Regions from separate parts of the Homo sapiens genome. Here region 1 is linked to region 2. Evidence: promoter capture Hi-C in human tissues and cell types (Jung and others, 2019). All regions are on one chromosome and are shown on one strand. The core of a region is centred on a gene start or on the middle of the fragment in contact, and the rest is flanking DNA. Distances in the headings are between cores, read along the strand shown.

Region 1 (5,657 bases), core at 1,298-3,797, 280 kb after region 2:
GGATTTGGACATACCTTCTGAGGGGGAACTCAATCGTACCCACAACAGTGTGCTTCCTCTTTTGGATACACTGGGGATGGTTCCCTCTCTCTGGACCTGATACTGCTCTTTCCCCAAAGGCCACTGATTAGTCAACATGCTCCCTGGGGCTCATGTCAGCCAAGGAGGGCAATTGATTTCCAACCACCTGTCAACATCTGCTTTACCCCCTGGGCTGAGAGCTGAGTTTCCCACAGTGACAAGTAGGTGATAAAAGACAGGTGTCCAAGTGTTTCCTGGAGAAAAAGCACTGGTTTAACTTATTTAATTAGTTCCAGAGAAGCAGTCAGACAGAAATGACACATCCCCTACAGGGCACAATAATCCCGGCTGCAGTTTCTCATCAGATGCTGTGCAGACCAGGATGTGGAAGAACATTGAAAACAAGAAACCAAAGGAAGCACCAAGCCAGAGTTGTGCATCTGTGAGAATTTCAGAAATGGAGGAAAAATCGATGCAAGAATACCCTTCAGAAATGAAAAAATCGACCGAAAATACCCTTCAGAAATGAATTAAAAATCAACACGAGAATACCCTTCAGAAATGAAGGAAAAATCAATGCGAGAACACCCTTTGGAAACGAAGGAAAAATCGATGCGAGAACACCCTTCAGAAATGAAAAATCAACGTGAGAACACCCTTCGGAAATGAAGGAAAAGTCGACGTGAGAACACCCTTCGGAAATGAAGGAAAAATCGACGCGAGAACACCCTTCAGAAATGAAGAAAAGTCGACGCGAGAACACCCTTCGGAAACGAAAGAAAAATCGATGCGAGAACACCCTTCGGAAACGAAGGAAAAATCGACGCGAGAACACCCTTCGGAAATGAAAGAAAAATTGATGATCTCCAGTGAGGACGCACTAAGAGAATTTGTTGCCGGCACACCTGCTTTAAAAGATGCCAAAGCAAGTTCTTCAGCTTGAGGGAAGATACAGAGGAAAACCCACAACCCCAAGAAGGAAGAAAGGGCAAGACAAGCAGTAAATGTCCAAGGAAACACAGCACACTATTGTTCTCCTCTTTACCCCAAGTGACTTTTCTTGCTCTGAATCTATTTTGTCTCACATGAATAGAGCTGTTTGAGGATTTTTGTGTAACTGATGTTGGCCTGATAGCTCTTTTCCCATCCTTTGACTGTGAAACAGTCTGTATCATTACATTGAAAATGAGTTTCTTGTAGACAGCATGTAGATGAGTCTTTAAAGTACATATGATGGTTGAAAGCAACAATTAACAACATTGCTTGGTTGAATTTTCAATATGTGCAGGTGCAATACGATGACTGTGACAAAGGGCACAGTGAAGGGGCCTTGGTGGGGACAAGGTCCCAGCATTCCAGCCAGAAGTGGTAAAATATTAATTCTGCATAGACTGGCAAGGTGAGGAGGAGTTAGAATGTATATTGCAATCCTTAGAATGACAATACACAGAGATAGAATTCAAGAAACCATTAGATAAATCAAAATGAAATACCACAAAATATCCCAATAATCCAAAAGAAGACATGCAAAGGGGAAAAGGAGAAAAAATCAGAGGTGCCAAATAGAGGACATGCAAGAAATGCTGGACCTAAATTCAGACACATCAGTAATGAATATAAATGTAGATGATCTAAACATACTGATTAAAGGCAGAAATTATCAGACTGGATAAAGGCAAGTCTTATCTACAGGCTGTCTATAAAAACCCTCTTTAAATACAAAATATAGGCAGATTAAACATAAAAGGATAGAAAAAGATATGCCAAGCAAACACCAATTAAAAAAACTGGAGTGACAAAGTAGATTTCAGAGCAAGGAAAATTCCTAAGAGTAAAGAGGGACGTTGCATAATGACAAAGGATCAACTCCCCAAGAAGACCTAGTAATCCTAAACACATATGCACCCAACGATAGGGCTTCCAAACACACAAGACAAAGACGATAGAGCTGCCTGAAAGGGAACAGGCAGCTCCATACTGGAATTGGTGACCCCAACATTCCCATCTCAGTTGGTTAGGGCTGCCATGTCAAAATACCACAGACTGGGGCCTTAAAGGGCAAAAATTTGTTTTCTCACCATTCTGGAAGCTGGAGGACCAAGATGAAGGCTGTTGGGGTTGACTTCTCAGTGTTCTCACATGGTATTTTTTTGTGCTGGTGTGGAGAGTGAATGATTCCTGGCTTCTTTCCATCTTCTTGTAAGGACATAAGTCCTATTGAATCGGACCCCCTCATATGACTTCTTGCAACCATAATCACCTCCTTACAGGCCCTGTCTCTAAATACAGTTACATTGGGGGTTAGGGCTTCAACATGTGAATTTTGTGGGACACAATTCAGTCCATAACAACTCCTCTCTCAGTAGCTGATAGAAAAGTGGACAGTAAATTAGCAGGATATGGAAGAACTGACCAGCTCCAGGAACCAACTGGACCTAACTAACATTTATAAAACGTTCTGCCAAACAACATCTACATACACTTTCTTTTTGGTCATAAAATGCATGTGAAAAAATTTAAAATACAAAAAACCTACAATGGTGTTAAACTAGAAATCAATAATATAAAAATGCCTAGAAAACCTCCAAATAGGTGGAAATTAAACAACACACTCCTTAGACAATGCAAATGTTGAGGAGAATGGCTCAGAAAAACTGGAAATCACTTGAACTGAATGAAAATGAAAAATATAGCAAAATGAAACAGTGCTTAGAGAGAAATTTATAGAACTAAATGCTTATAGCCCTACAAGCATTTAGTTAGAAAAGAAATGCTAATATTAAAAACAGAAGAAAATTATAAATCAACAATCTAAGCTTCCACCTTAAGAAATTACGAAAATAGGAGCAAATTAAACTGAAAGCAGGCAGAAGGAAGGAAAGAATAAAGATAAGAGAAACCAATGAAATAGAAAACAGAAAGACAACAAAGAAAAATCAATAAACTAGAGGCTGGTTCTTTGAAAAGATCAGTAAAATTGATAAAGCTTTAACCAGACTGATTAGCAAGGGAGAAAGAGAGATAAATTTCCAGTATCAATAATGAAAGAGGATATATCACTATTGACCCACAGACATTAAGAGGGCAATGCACGAACATTATGAGCTACTCCCTGCATATACATCTGACAACTTTGAAGGAATAAGCCAATTCTTTAAAAGCCACAAACTACCAAAACTCACTCAACAAGAAATAGATGGCCTGAACAACCCTTTTGTATTAAAGTAATTGAATTCATAGCAGAAAAACTTTCTGAAAATGAAAATTCCAGACACAGATGGTTTCATTAGCAGATTTTATGAACAGGTAATGAAGAAATATTACCAATTCTGCACAATCTCCTCCAGAAAATAGAAGAGAAATGCTTTCCTACTCATGTTATGAAAACAGCATTACTCCAGTGCCAATGCCAGATAAATGACAGTACAAGAAACAAAACTACGTACAAATATCTCCCATGAACATAGATGCAAATGTATAAATTGTGACAGTAGCATGCAAGGCTGGCTAAACATCTGAAATTCAATCAGCACTCTCCACTGTATTGACAGACCAAAGAAGAAAACACACACGATCATCTCAAATGACGCAAAAAACAATGTCAAAATTCAAGAATCATTCATGGAAAAAGTCTCAGCAAACTAGGAGCAGTGAGGAACTTCCTTAACCGGATGGAATGTATCCATTAAAAACCCACAGATGACGTCGCACATAGTGGTGAAAAACTGGATACTTCCTCCCTAAAATCTGGAATGAGGATAGGCGGTCCCCACTCCCATCCTTGCCAACATCATCCTGAAAGTCCCAGCTAGTGCAATAAAGCAAGAGAAGGAAATAAAAGGCATTCAGACAAGAAAGGGAGAAAGAAAACCATCTCTATTTACAGAGAGCATAATTGTTTATGTAGAACATTCCAAGGAATTTACCAAAAAAGACACAAAAACCTCACCTATAACTAGTCCATGAGTTCAGCAGTGTCACAGGATACAAGATTGGCACACACGTGTCAATGGCGTTTTTATCTAATAACAGTGAACACGTGGGAATTGAAGTTTAAGTCTCAGTCCCACTGACAGCCCTGCCAAGAGAATGAAACACAAACACACTTAACACAACACGAGTAGATGAATAATGGGCAAAAGAGGGAAGAACTCATTCACCAAGGACATTTGGATGGCAGATAAGAACACGAGATGCTCGACATCGTCAGCCACGAGGGAATAAAAATGTACACCACTGATGTGTGGAACCACCACACACCTGTGAGAACAGCGCGAGGAAAAAGGAAACGCGTGGTCACACCCAGCACTGGCGAGGACGCGGAGCCCCTGGCTCTCCTGTGCCACTGCTGGGGGTGTGACGTGCGGCAGCTGCTCCAGACGACAAGGTGGCAGTGTATTTTAATGTTACAACTATGCTTACCTTGGGATCCAGCAACCCCCTGCCTGGACATGCATGCTGGAGAAATGAAAGTTTATTTCACGGGAAAATCTACACACGACTGTTTGTAGCGGCTTCACTCCAGGGATTAGAAAATGAACCACTTACTTGAATCCAGTGAATATTCACCAAAAACAACCAACCAAATGTGTAAACAACATTGAGACCTACTAGAAACAACAAATACCTGCTTACATATGTTAATTGTTTGCCCATTTTGCCTCTGTGGACTTCCATTCCAATTCTTTATTCTTCCAATACCTATGACTGTTTCTATTTAAGGTGTTAAAGGAAACGTTTGACGGATCGAATAACTGATATGACATTTATCTTACTTTACTTTTAAAATCTCAACTTTTATTTTAGATTTAGGGGCACACGTGCAGATTTGTTACATGAGAATATTGTGTGATGCTGAGGTTTGGAGGACGGGTGCCATCACCCAGATGGCGAGCATCATACCTGAAGGAAGTTCTTTAATCCTCCATCCCCAACCCTCCAGGAGGCCCCAGTGACTTTTGTTCCCATCTTTTTGTCCACGTGTCCTCAATGTTTAGCTCCCACTTGTAAGTAAGAACATGCGGTATTTGGTTTTTTGCTCCTGCATTAATTTGCTTACGAGAATGGCCTCCAGCTGCATCCATGTTGCTGCAAAGGACACGATTCCATTCTTTTTATGGCTACGTAGTATTCCACAGTGTATATGTACCACGTTTTCTTTATGTAGTCCACCACTGATGGGCACCTAGGTTTGTTCCATGTCTTGCTATCGTGAATAACGCTGTGATGAACATATGTGTCCTTTTGGCAGAATCCTTTATTTTCTTTTGGGTATATACCCAGTAATGGGATTGCTAGGTTGAATGGTAGCTGTGTTTTAAGATCTTTGAGGAATCTCCAGACTGCTCTCCACGGGCCTGGGCTAATTTATGTTCCCACCAGCAGTGCGTGAGCATCACCTTTTTTCTTCAGCTTCACCAGCATCTGTTGTTTTTTTGACTTTGTAATAATCGCCATTCTGACTGCTGAGCTGGCATCTCATTGTGGTTTTGATTTGCATTTCTCTGATAATGAGAATTTTTTCTTATACTTGTTGGTCACTTGTATGTCTTGTTTTGAGAAGTATCTGTTCATGTCCTTTGCCTTTTTTTTTTTTTTTTTGAGACAGAGTTTCACTCTGTAGCCCACGCTGGAGT
Region 2 (5,513 bases), core at 3,014-5,513:
GGCTGTGCCCTGTGACCCTTCAGAGCCTGGGTTTGGGGGTGGAGGGGGTGGACAGCTGACCAGGTGCCTGGCGCAGGCCCAGTGTGGTGAGGCTGGGTCGCGGAGGCCAGGCCAGGCCAGCGGCCACGACCACCCACCAGGGACCCTCAGCGTCACGACCCCGGTCCCAAGACCCAAGACAGCAGGACATGGGGGCACAGCCATCTCTGGGGGCCTCTCCTTCCCCCCGCTCTGGGTCCTCAGTCATCAGTGCAGACATGGAGGTGCAGGTGCACGCCGTACACCCTCACCTGGGGCCCCTGGCCCATGCCTCCCCACCCTCCCTACCCTGATCTCCCCCCACAACCCTACACCTCCCCGGACAACCCTGCACCTCCCCCAACAGCCACCCTGCACCTCCCCGCCACAACCCTGCACCTCCCCCAACAACCCTTCAACTCCCCTCTCACCTTGCACCTGCCCCTCACCCTGCACCTCCCCCCATCCTGTACCTCCCCCCTTCACCCTCCACCTACTCCCAACCCTGCATCTCCCCCCAACCCTGCACCTCCCCACATCCTTCACCTCCCTCCTCACCTGGCACCTCCCCCCATCCTTTCCCTCCCCCAATCCTTCACCTCCCCCCTCCCTTCATCTCCCCCCTCACCCTCCACCTCCCCCCCGCACCCTGCACCTCCCACCCTTACCCTGCACCTCTCCCCATCTTTTACCTCCCTCCCACCCTGCATCTCCCCCCAACCCTGCACCTCCCCCCATCCTTTATTTCCCCCCACCCTGCATCTCCCCCCAACCCTGCACCTCCCCCCATCCTTTACCTCCCCCCACCCTGCATCTCCCCCCAACCCTGCACCTCCCCCAATCCTTCACCTCCCCCCTCACCCTCCACCTCCCCCCCTCACCCTGCGGCAAGCAGAGAGCTGACTCCAGCACAGTGAACTTGGAATGATGGAATGCACCCTGGAAGCAGCTCTGACGGGCGCCACCGTGACTGTGCCCAGCAGGGAGCTCCCTTGTGGTTTTTAACAAAAGACAAAATTCCCCAGGTCCTTCTCTGTGCTACAGGAGAAACTGGTGTGGGAGAGGGAACCCAGGCGTGACCAGGGAGAAACTGGTGTGGGAGAGAGAGGGAACCCAGGCGTGACCAGGGCTGCCCAAGCGGCTCCCTGTGAGGCATCAACGCTGGAGACACAGCAGTCATGGGGAACCCGGGGAACCCGGGAAACCCAGCCGCCATCAGAGAGCCAGAGAGCCGCAGGCGCCTGTGCGGGGTCCTGGCCTGGCCCGAGGGGTCAGCACACCCCTGTCTGCCTCTGAGGTCAGGGCCCTGGGGGCTCCTGACCTGGCCTGCCTGTGGGAGGCAAAGGTGTGGCCAGGAGAGGACAGGAGGGGGCAGTCACAGTCACCACTCCTGGAGGCCCATGAAGAGCAGCTTTGCCCCCACACTTCTGTGAAGCCAACTTGGGCCTGTTTGGGAGGGGCCTGGCGCTGCAGCCGGCCGTGGGCACCTGCCATGTGGCGGTCCACTGGAGGCCAAGTCCAGCTCATATGGCTCTGGGGACCCACCGCACCAGACTCCAGTGTGGGGGTACCCGGAGCTGGGGGTGGGTCCTCGGAGGCTTCCAGTCCTGCCCCAGCTGCCATCCCTGCCAGGTGTTAGCGCCTCTGGTTCAGAGTCCCGAGAGGACCAGTGGCCCAGGAGAAAGGGGTGTGTCTCCAGCTGCTGGGAGTGTGGGTGGGAGCCAGAGGGTTCAATGACACTGGGGACAGCAAGTCCGGACTGGAGGGAGGAGACCTCCTGAACAGGGTCCCCAGCACAGAGGCAGAAAGGAGACTCTGTGACTGGGGGTGTCAGCTGCATCTGGACCTTCGTGGTGGGGAGGGAGGCACGCCCAATAGCCCGTCTGAACGGGAGGTGGCTCAGGGATCCCCCATTGTGCTGGTGGGGTGCCCAGAGACTCCAGGACTCCACGTGGGGCTCTGCCTGCTAAACCCTGAGACTTTAGGGGCAGTGGCTCCCACGGCAGGGTCATCCTTTTTCTGCACAGTCCCACTGGCTGCCCCAGGTCCTGCAGAGACCTGAGACTTTGGGGACAAGCACAGGGGACAGGTGGGCGTGGATGGCCTGTGCCGGTCAAGGGCAGTGGGAAGGAAGGAGGAGCAGTTTCCTTCTGTACCCAGGAAATAGAGTAACAAAGTGTCTCATTCCAGTTGGTTCTGGTGGGACAGGGTAGGTGGAAGGGAACCCGTGCTTGCCCTGAGACATGGGGGTGCTGTCTTCCCATGCAGGGGGACTGCGGCTCACCACCATCACATTCTACCCACAGGTTCTTATTTTAACAGATCACAAAGGTACTATGTGCTTCTTGCAAAAATTTACAGGAATTGTAGACTTTTCAAAAAGTAAAAAGAAATTAAAGTTCACCTGTTACCTCAGAGTTATCCAGCTACACATTTTCTGTGCATAATTCACTTTACAAAAATTGGATCAAGATAAAACTAATGATTTTTAAAAATACAGCAATATAGTTGCACATTGTTCCATATCAAAAAATAAATGTGTGCACCCAGGGCTCCTGGCTGTCTCAGTGGCATAGTGGCTCATGCCTGTAATCCCAACACTTTGGCAAGCCGAGGTGGGTGGATCACCTGAGGTCAGGAGTTCGAGACCAGCCTGGCCAAGATGGCAAAACCACTATCTACTTAAAAAAAAAAAAAAATTAGCCAGGTGTGGTGGCGCGCGACTGTAATCCCAGCTACTTGGGAGGCTGAGGCACGAGAATCGCTTGAGCCCTGGAGGCAGAGGCTGCAGTGAACTGAGATCGCACCACTGCTCTCAGGCCTGGGTGACAAAGCAAGACTCTGTCCCAAAAAAGCCCATTTACTCAGCTCACATTTTTGAGCCTCTGCTATTCGACAGGAACCAGAGGTGAGCAGAGCCGACTTGGTGACCCCTGGGGACAGAGCGGCAGAACTCAGCAATTCTGGGCTGCCCTGCAGGAGCTACACCCGGGGAGGGGCGGTGGCCACTTGGGGGCAGGGTGGGCTTCTCAGCTGCGCCCACCCCACCTTGGGAGCTGTGTCTGGAAAAGAGACTTTTCCTGAGCCGACAGCAGACAGCGAGTGCAAAGGCCCCAAGGCCCGCACGCCTTATTCAGAGAACAGCAGGAGGCGCGGGGCGGGTTGGGGGCGTCAGGGAGACGGGGTTTGACTGAGAACCTGGGGGCGCCAGTGACAGCCTCGGCCGCGTTGCTGAAAACCGACCTTGCGGGATGAAGAGGGCGCGGTTCCCCCGGCTGGGATGAGGACCGCGGATGCTGAGGAGCGGACTCCAGGGACCACCGACTCCATGGCCGGCCCCAGCGAGGGCGAGAACGGGTGGAAGCCGGCCAGGGTCTGTGGAGACGTCAGGGTGCGAGGCCAGGCTGAGGTGTCCCCAGGGATCCCCTGAGGGTACAGGGAATTCAGCCAGGGCCTGCGCGCCCGGACGGAGGACTAGAGGGGGCCAAGGACCACCGGGAGGGGGAAGGAGAAGGCGCAGCCCGAGGTCGGAGGGGCCGGCGGGCGCGCAGAGGGCGCGGGGTGAGCCCTAAGGACCTGCAGGCAGGACCCTGCTCTCGGCCGCGCGGTCCCGGGTGCCGACCGGCGGGGTGGGCGGGGCAGGGGCACCCAGGGCCGCACACCTGCCGCGTGGGACCCTGAAATGCCCAGGACGAAGAACGTCGCACGGACGACCCTGCCGTGCCTGGCGCGCGTCCGCTTCCTGGGAAGCTCAGGATCCAAAAGCATCTTAATATTCTCTATAATTCGCCAAAAACCATGACTCCTTTTACATTTTCGAAACGACCTCATGGGGCAGGCGAGGGGGCACACGCTCTCCTCACTTTACCTGTTCGGGTCTACACCGCCCGGCTCTAGGGCCGGCAGCTCAGCACAGCCGGCCGCGAGCGCTGGGGAGGGGACGGGGGCGCAGGGAGAACCGGGGGACCCTGGGCGCACACAGACCCCAGGGGGAACGCAGGGCCTGGAGGGGCTCAGCGCGCGACCCCCGCCTCGGGGCACGGAGACTCCGGGGGATCACTGGGACGCGAAGGGCGCAGGGCGGACCCCAGGGGAACCGGATGGCGTCTCCGGTTCGCCAGGGCAGCTGGGGCAGCCGGACCCGAGACAGCCGGACCCGCGGGCGCCCTCTGCCGCCTCCCGGCCCTGGATGCTGCGGGGCGGGGCGGGCGGCTCGCGTGCCGGGGTGGGGCAGTCCCTGGAGCCGCCGCGGGTTCCCGGGATGCGAGCGCCGGCACCCGCCGCCACAGCTCCTGGCCAGGGCGCGCTGCCCCGCGGGTGTGCCTGAGCCTCCGCGCCCCGCAGGCCCTGGGTAAGTGTCCTGGGCGCCCCCGCAGGCCCCCGCCGCGTGCCGCCCGCGGTGGAGACGGGATGCGCTCCCGGGTGTGGGGCTGAGGGACGGGCGCCGGCGTCGGGACCCTCCTCACGCCGCATCCTCGCGTCGCCAGGCCCGGCGGCCCCGGGACGGGGCGGACACTCTGGGGTGCGGCTGGCTGGTCTCACTTAAAACTCGGACCTCGGAGGGAAGCCGCGGCGCGTCCACGGTTCGTGGTCCTCAGCGTCCCCTCGAGAGTGTTCTGAGCCTTCACTCCCCGGGCGTTCCGTGCGGGCCGCGCTCCCTGGGGCTGGGCGGGTGCGGGCGGCGGAGCGGGGCCCCGCTGTCGGGCCGAGGGCGCCAGGTCCGGGGGGCCTCACCCCCGGGAAAGGCCCATGTTCAGGCTTGGTTTCAGTAGCACCCAGTAGCGCTGAAGTCTTATTTTGAGCGGCCAGAATTCCCAGACCGGATGCCCTGAGAGAGCGATGTGGCGCCTGGAGTCCACGCTGGGACCCCTTCTGGGGAGGGGTCGCCATGGGCGCGTGACAGGCAGGGGCCACCCTCTGACCTCTTCTGCGAGGCCGGAGGTCAGAGACCTTGTGCAGAAGCGTCCCACGGGCCTGTCCCACGGGCCTGTCCGGCTGTGGCCTCCGGGATGGCAAGGGCAGGCGGGGAGGGGCTTCCTCCCTGGGCCTCCTGTGCGCGCGCACAGGCTCTCGTCTGCGGGGTTCTTGCAGAAGGGTGGGCGTGTGCGCGCGTTCTCCAAACGCCACCCCCACGGGGCCTCACAGCCGCCCCGGCCTGGCAACCGTCACCCATTTTACGAACGAGGACATCAAGGTAGGTCGCTCATCCAGCCTCTCAGAGCAAGTGACTGGCGGCGTTTGGACTCGGGCCGAGTGTGCCATACCCATCCCGCACAAAGCCGGGGCTCGATGCGGCCCCAGAGTCGCTGAAAAGCCACGAGTAACAAGAACTGGAGAACGTAGGATGCTGACCCGGCGGACGCCGCCGCCTGGGGAGCCGCTTCGACGGGGGGGACGCCACCGCCTGGGGAACGGCTTTTATTTTCGTTTTCTTACTTATCTGTATTCTCTAAAATGAACAGACACGAGTTTTACCACGGGAGAAAGGTTCTTAG

What was found. The method cuts DNA at HindIII sites, captures the fragments that hold promoters and counts their contacts. A contact is called where the count stands out against the background at its distance.
Region 1: a contact is called between a fragment that was not itself captured here and the fragment with the promoter of AHRR in region 2, in 1 of the 25 tissues and cell types used here (lymphoblastoid cells).

Annotation. Positions count from the first base shown.
Region 1 is chr5:594,390-600,046 of GRCh38, forward strand. No RefSeq gene overlaps it. Among named protein-coding and RNA genes, the nearest start is that of CEP72-DT, 15 kb to the right of the region's middle. The HindIII fragment of the contact is 4,530 bases long and covers 283-4,812 here.
Region 2 is chr5:317,451-322,963 of GRCh38, forward strand. It overlaps AHRR (aryl hydrocarbon receptor repressor), which reads left to right and starts at 4,264. Exons shown (of 11, transcript NM_001377236.1): 1 at 4,264-4,369. All of the region lies in intron 3 of PDCD6-AHRR (PDCD6-AHRR readthrough (NMD candidate)), which reads left to right. RefSeq lists enhancers at 1,067-1,366, 4,500-5,067, 5,156-5,275 and silencers at 3,476-3,735, 3,886-4,375, 4,466-4,845, 4,856-4,915. The HindIII fragment of the contact is 29,634 bases long and covers 1-5,513 here.